2 separate regions of the Homo sapiens genome follow, and region 1 is linked to region 2. The links are contacts of gene promoters, found by promoter capture Hi-C in blood cells and fetal thymus (Javierre and others, 2016). All regions are on one chromosome and are shown on one strand. The core of a region is centred on a gene start or on the middle of the fragment in contact, and the rest is flanking DNA. Distances in the headings are between cores, read along the strand shown.

What was found. The method cuts DNA at HindIII sites, captures the fragments that hold promoters and counts their contacts. A CHiCAGO score of 5 or more calls a contact.
Region 1: a contact is called between a fragment that was not itself captured here and the fragment with the promoter of RAPSN in region 2, in 1 of 17 cell types (neutrophils). The highest score is 5.3, in neutrophils.

What each region holds. Positions count from the first base shown.
Region 1 is chr11:47,143,840-47,146,938 of GRCh38, forward strand. All of the region lies in intron 4 of CSTPP1 (centriolar satellite-associated tubulin polyglutamylase complex regulator 1), which reads left to right. Among named protein-coding and RNA genes, the nearest start is that of ARFGAP2, 31 kb to the right of the region's middle. The HindIII fragment of the contact is 3,402 bases long and covers 1-3,099 here.
Region 2 is chr11:47,447,886-47,451,208 of GRCh38, forward strand. RAPSN (receptor associated protein of the synapse) reads right to left here and starts at 1,251. Exons shown (of 8, transcript NM_005055.5): 1 at 888-1,251; 2 at 1-265. The coding sequence starts at 1,079. The HindIII fragment of the contact is 3,655 bases long and covers 399-3,323 here.

The DNA.
Region 1 (3,099 bases), core at 331-2,830, 300 kb before region 2:
TGTAAAATGGGAATAATAATAGTTGTAATGATTGAAGGAGAAGTATATGATGTGCTTAAAATGGTGGCTGGCACAGAGTAAACTTGTCATAATCGTTAGAAATGGTAATATTAACCTTGACCTAGAAGAACACAGGCCCCATGGCATTAGAAAGATCTACTGTACATCCCACCTGTGCCCCATTAACTGGATGACCTTGAGGATATCTCTTAACTTCTCTGAGCCCTGTTTTTATATCTGTAAAATGGGGATGATAATAATAATAGTAACTAACTCATAGGGTGTTTGTAAGATTTCAGTAACACCAACAAAACCATGAACACTGCTTACCACATTGTAGACATTAAATCAGTAATAATTTTTTTTTTAGATGAAGTCTTGCTCTGTTGCCCAGGCTGGAGTGCAGTGGCGTGATCTTAGCTCGCTGCAACCTCCGCCTCCTGGGTTCAAGTGATTCTTGTGCCTCAGCCTCCCAAGTAGCTAGGATTATAGATGCCCGCCACCACGCCTTGCTAATTTTTTGTATTTGTAGTAGAGACGGGGTTTCACCATGTTGGCCAGGCTGGTCTCGAACTCCTGACCTCAAGCGATCTGCCTACCTCAGCCTCCCAAAATACTGGGATTACAGGCATGAGCCACCACGCCTGGCCAGTAGTAATTTCTTGCTGTTACAATTATGTTGGTATTATTAATAGTACCAGATTAAAAGAAAAATGAGATGTTCCTGGGTTTCCAAAGGCAATGCTTCCTGGCCTTTTTGCACTTCACAGCAATCAGAAAATAATATATAACAAAAATCTCCAGTAAAGACAAGACTTCTTGTGATTGGCCTGCAGGCTCTGGCCTCCTCCCAGCTGGGCCAAGGGGACCATCACATCTGTAAGTCATTTGAGGCCGAAGTGACAAAGGGTTGGGAAGCTCTGCTCCAAGGGTGAAGATTTAAAGCACTGGTTCTCAAACTTGAGCATGCATCAGAGTCACCTGCAGGGCTTGTTAAACCACACATGGCCGGACCACATCCCCAGAGTTCAGTAGGTTTAGGGCGGGGCTCAATAATTTATATTTCTAAAAAATTCCCAGGTGATACTGATGGTCTGGGAAACACACGTTGAGAACCACTGATTTAAAGTATTGCCTGCCATTTTTTTTTTTTTTTTTTTTTTTTTTGAGATAGAGTCTTGCTCTGTCACCAGGCTGGAGTGCAGTGGCATGATCTGAGCTCACTGCAACCTCCGCCTCCCAGGTTCAAGCGATTCTCTCGCCTCAGCCTCCCAAGTAGCTAGGACTACAGGCACGCACCACCATGCCTGGCTAATTTTTGTATTCTTAGTAGAGACTGGGTTTCACACTGTTGGCCAGGATGGTCCCAATCTCTTGACCTTATGATCTGCCTGCCTCGGCCTCCCAAAATGCTGGCATTACAGGCGTGGGCCACCGCACCCGGCTGTATTGCCTGCATTCTTATTCTGGCTGGGCATGGTGGCACACGCCTGTAATCCCAGCACTTTGGGAGGCAAAGGCAGGTGGATCACTTGAGGTCAGGAGTTCGAGACCAGCCTGGCCAACATGGTGAAACCCCGTCTCTACTAAAAAGAAACCCCATCTCTACTAAATACAAAAATTAGTCGGGTGGGGTGGCACGCACCTATGGAATCCCAGCTACTCAGGAGGCTGAGGCAGGAGAACTGCTTGAACCCGGGAGGCAGAGGTTGCAGTGAGCTGAGATCGCACCATTGCACTCCAGCCTGGGTGACATAGCAAGACTCTGTCCCTCCCAAAAAAAATTATTTAAAAAATGTTATTATTTTTTGAAATGAGGTCTTGTTCTGTCACACAGGCTGGAGTGCAGTGGTGCATTCATAGCTCACTACAGCCTCAAACTCCTGTGCTCAAGTGATTTTCCCACCTCAGCCTCCTGAGTAGCTAGGACCATAGGCACGTTCTACAAAGCCCAGCTAATTTTTTATTTTGTAGAGATGGGGGCAGTGATCTTGCTGTGTTGCTCAGGCTGGTCTCGAACTCCTGGCCTCAGGCATTCCTCCTGCCTCAGCTTTCCGTAAATTATTTTATTTTATTTTATTTTATTTTATTTTAAGATGGGGTCTTGCTGTGTTGCTGGGGCTAGACTCAAGCTCCCAGGCTCAGGCAGTTTTCCTGCCTCAGCCTCCCAAGTAGCTGGGACTACAGGTGCACACCACCACACCCAGCTAAGAACTTTTTAATAAAGAATTCCTACAAATTGGCTGGGCACAGTGGCTCACGCCTGTAATCCCAGCACTTTGGGAGGCCGAGGCGGGTGGATCACCTGAAGTCAGGAGTTCAAGACCAGCCTGGTCAACATAGTGAAACCTCCTCTCTACTAAAAATACAAAAAAATTAGCCGGGCATGGTGGCGGGCGCCTGTAATTCCAGCTACTTGGGAGGTTGAGGCAGGAGAATCACTTGAACCCGGGAGGTGGAGATTGCAGTGAGCCGAAACCGTGCCACTGCACTCCAGCCTGGGCAACAAGAATGAAACTCTGTCTCAAAAAAAAAAAAAAAAAAAAGAATTCCTACAAATCAATAAGAAAAAGATTAAGGATCTCAGTAGAAAAATAGTCCAAAGATATAAACAGGCAATGCACAGAAGAACATTAGTAATAAACCTTTGGGCATATTTTCATGCCCACACTCACTAGTAATCAGGAAACTCCCAACTAAATTGAGATACCACTTCATACCTATCAAATTGGCAAAAATTTTAAAGTCTCATAATACAAATATTGGTGAGGATGTGAAATAGTGGGAACTCTCATAAACTGTGTGTGGGAGTGTAAATTGTTACAATTACTTTCAGACAATTTAGGCAAATTTTTAAAGTTCAAGAGCTACTCCTGGGAATAAGGAAACATGCAGTATTGTTTGTAATGGCCGCCATTGGAACAATCTGCACGTCCCTCTGCTGAAGGAAAGAATAAAGTGTGGCATATTCATACCATAGTTGTGGAATTCTTTCCAGCAGCTAAAATGAATAGCTATATATGCATCAATCCTGATGAATCTCAAAATATCAAAGTTACAGAATGACACAGAGTTTGAGAAAAAGCAAAACAAAGCTAT
Region 2 (3,323 bases), core at 1-2,500:
CATAGCGCAGGGCCTTCTCGAAGCTCTCCAGGGCCTTCTGGAAGACGCTGAGGCCCAGGAAGGCATTGCCCATGCTCAGGCTGACCTGGCCTCCGAGCTGGGCACCTGCCCTGGTACCAGGCAGCCCAAGGCAGGTCTTGCAGTAGGAGATGGTCTTGTGAAACTCGCACAGCTTCTCGTTGCTGCGTGCCAGGTTCAGGTAGCTCTCCAGGAGGAAGTCGGCATCCTCCAGCTCCCGGGCCGTGTCGATCTGGACCACAGCGAACTGCACACAGCGACGGTGGGCAGGTGGTGCTCAGCCTGGACTCTGAGCCTTGGACCCCAGCCTGCACTGCAGGCTCAGACCTGGAGGCCCCACACCCACCCCCCAGCCTCACACCCAAAGCAGCAGATCCCAAAGCTTCTTTTCAGACCCAGAGCTTCTACCCGCCAGCCTCAGCTACCTTCCCTACACCCCAGCCTCACCTCCCAAGCTCAGGCTTGCAGCCTTCACCTTCTATCCCAAGCCTCAGATCTGGAGTCTCCACCACCCACCCACCCCCAGCCGCAACCCTGGAGCCCACACCCCGCCAGGCTCAGACACAGAACACCAGACAGGAAGGCTGAAACCTACAATGGGCTTGAGACCCACAAACCCTCGACCCTGAGGCTGGAGAACCTCAGTCTCAGAGACTCGGGCACCACAGTTCAAGGCCACAGGCCTGAATCTGATGCCAAGACTCAGTATCTAAGACCCAGGGCCTTAGATATAAATTCAGAGCCTCGGGCCCTGGCTGCCAGCCTGTGGGACACAGGGGAGCCCGAGGAGGCCGAGAGGGGACTGGGGAGCCTGGGAGACATCCGGCCCCAGCCTGACCCTCGAACGCCCCCAGGCCGGGTACACCCACCTTCAGCATCTCCTTGTAGCGGCCCATCTCCGAGTGGGCTGTGACCAGGCAGCCCAGCACGCGGAAGCGCCCCATGAGGTCCGAGCTCTTCTCCAGCACCTTTGTCCACACCTGCAATGCCTTCTCTGTCTGGTTGGACTGGTACAGCTGGAGCCCCTTCTCGATCTGCTGCTTGGTCTGGTCCTGCCCCATCCTCCCCAAGCCCTGTGTCCCACGTGGGGTGATCCCTGGTGGCTCCGTGCCTCTAGGCACTCATGGGGCAGGAATCACAGTGCCAGCTGCCCCCCGAAACGTGGGAACAAAAGCAGCGTCGGGTGGGAGCCGGAATGGGGCCTGGATGGAGAGCAGGCGCCACCCTGGGAACAAAGCTGGTTCAGCCCGTCTGCAGCTGTCGCTGCCAGTTGGGGCCACATGGCCTCTGAGGAATGTCAGCAGCAAGGTCACGTGGGCCTCTGCTGCACCCACCCGCGAGCTGGGACGTGGCTTCCCTGAGCATACAGGCACCTTGCCACCTGGGCACCCCCTTGGGCGTCCCTTAGGCACCTCTGACACTGACCCTGACCGCCCTGGCAGCACGGGCCCTCCCAGCAGCCTTGCCAAGGGGCCAGCTCCAGCAAGTGGGCAGGCCTTGGGCTAGAGGTGCTCGGGGGAAGGAGAGCGAGGCTGGACCTGCAGGTCCGGGGAAGCCAGGTGAGCGCCCAGCCCTGCTTCTTCCCCATCAAGACACCCCTGACCGCAGCATCCCCTGGCTCTGTTCCTGAAATTCACTGAGCACCGTGGGTCACTCATCCAGGCCCAGGCTGACACCATTCACCAACTCTCACCTTAGAGAGTCTGGGAAAGACCTCCAGCTGGTGAGAGGCCTGAGCTCTAGCCTGGCTTCCTTCGAACTCTCAGTGGGACCCTAGCCAAGTGACCTGGCACCGTGGACTGAAGAGAGGAATGGTACCTGGCTCACTGGACTGCTATGAGAACTCAATGACGAAAGAGTTGAGAAGGACTTAGGACAGTGCCCGGCACAGGAAACCCCGCATGTGCTGCAAGAGGCTATTTTGCTCCATGGCAAATCCCCACCCGGGCCAGAACCCAGCCCTTGAAGTTTCAATGTCTCACTTCCAATCCCAACCCCGGGCTGAAAGGGTCCTCATAATGAGATTTAACACCAGATACTGTGGAGAAGGGCAAGGTCTTATGTAGTATTGGGGCCCCCGCTAGCAGGCCAGCTCATCCAGCCCCCCTTTCTCCTCTCTCTGCATGCCAGCCTTCTTCCTGCCCCAGGGCAAAAGTTTATCCTTTCTGGCTGGGCAATTCAGTGGTTTTTAGTATATTCACAGAGATGCACATTAATTGCCACTAATTCCAGAACATTTTAACCACCCCAAAAAGGAGACGCACACCCATCAGCAGTTACACCACTCCATTCCCCACCTTGATATGACTGAATCATGTCCCCCCGCAACCAAACGCATATGTTTAAGTCCTAACACTCAGTATCTCATAAGGTGACTGTCTTTGGAGACAGGGTCTTTAAAGGGTGATTAAGGTAAAATGAAGTCACATTGTACCTCATCCAGTTAAGACTGGTATCCCCCCCCCCTTTTTTTTGAGACAGGGTCTCACTCTGTCACCTAGGCTGGAGTGCAGTGGTGCAGTCACAGCTCACTGCAACCTCTACCTCCTAGGCTCAAGTGACCCTCCCACCTCAGTCTCCTGGGTAGCTGAGACCACAGCTGTCTAGTTTTTGTAGAGATGGGTTTCACCATGTTGCCCAGGCTGGTCTTGAACTCCTGGAGGTGGAGGTTTCAGTGAGCCGTGATTGTGCCACTGCACTCCAGCCTGAGCACCAGAGCAAGACCTTGTCTCAAAAAATAAATAAACAATAAATTTTTATTTTTAAAAATTATTTTTGAGACGGAGTTTTGCTCTTGTTGCATAGGCTGGAGTGCAGTGGCACAATCTCAGCTCACTGAGACTTCTACCTCCCGGGTTCAAGCAATTCTCCTGCCTCAGCCTCCCAAGTAGCTGGGATGACAGGTGTATGCCACCACGCCTGGCTAAGTTTTTGTATTTAGTAGAGACGGGGTTTCACCATGTTGGTCAGGCTGGTCTTGAACTTCTGACCTCAGTTGATCCACCTGCCTCAGAGCCTCCCGAAGTATTGGGGTTATAGGCGTGAGCCACCATGCCTGACCACAATACTTTTTTTTTTTTTTGAGACACTTTCCCTCTGTCACCCAGGCTGGAGTGTGGTGGTGCCATCTTGGCTCACTGCAACCTTCACCTCCCAGGTTCAAGTGATTCTCCTGCCTCAGCCTCCTGAGTAGCTGGGATTACAGCTGCGCACCACCACACCTGGCTAATTTTTGTATTTTTAGTAGAGACGGGGTTTCACCATGTTGGTCAGGCTGGTCTGGAACTCCTGACTTCATGATCTGC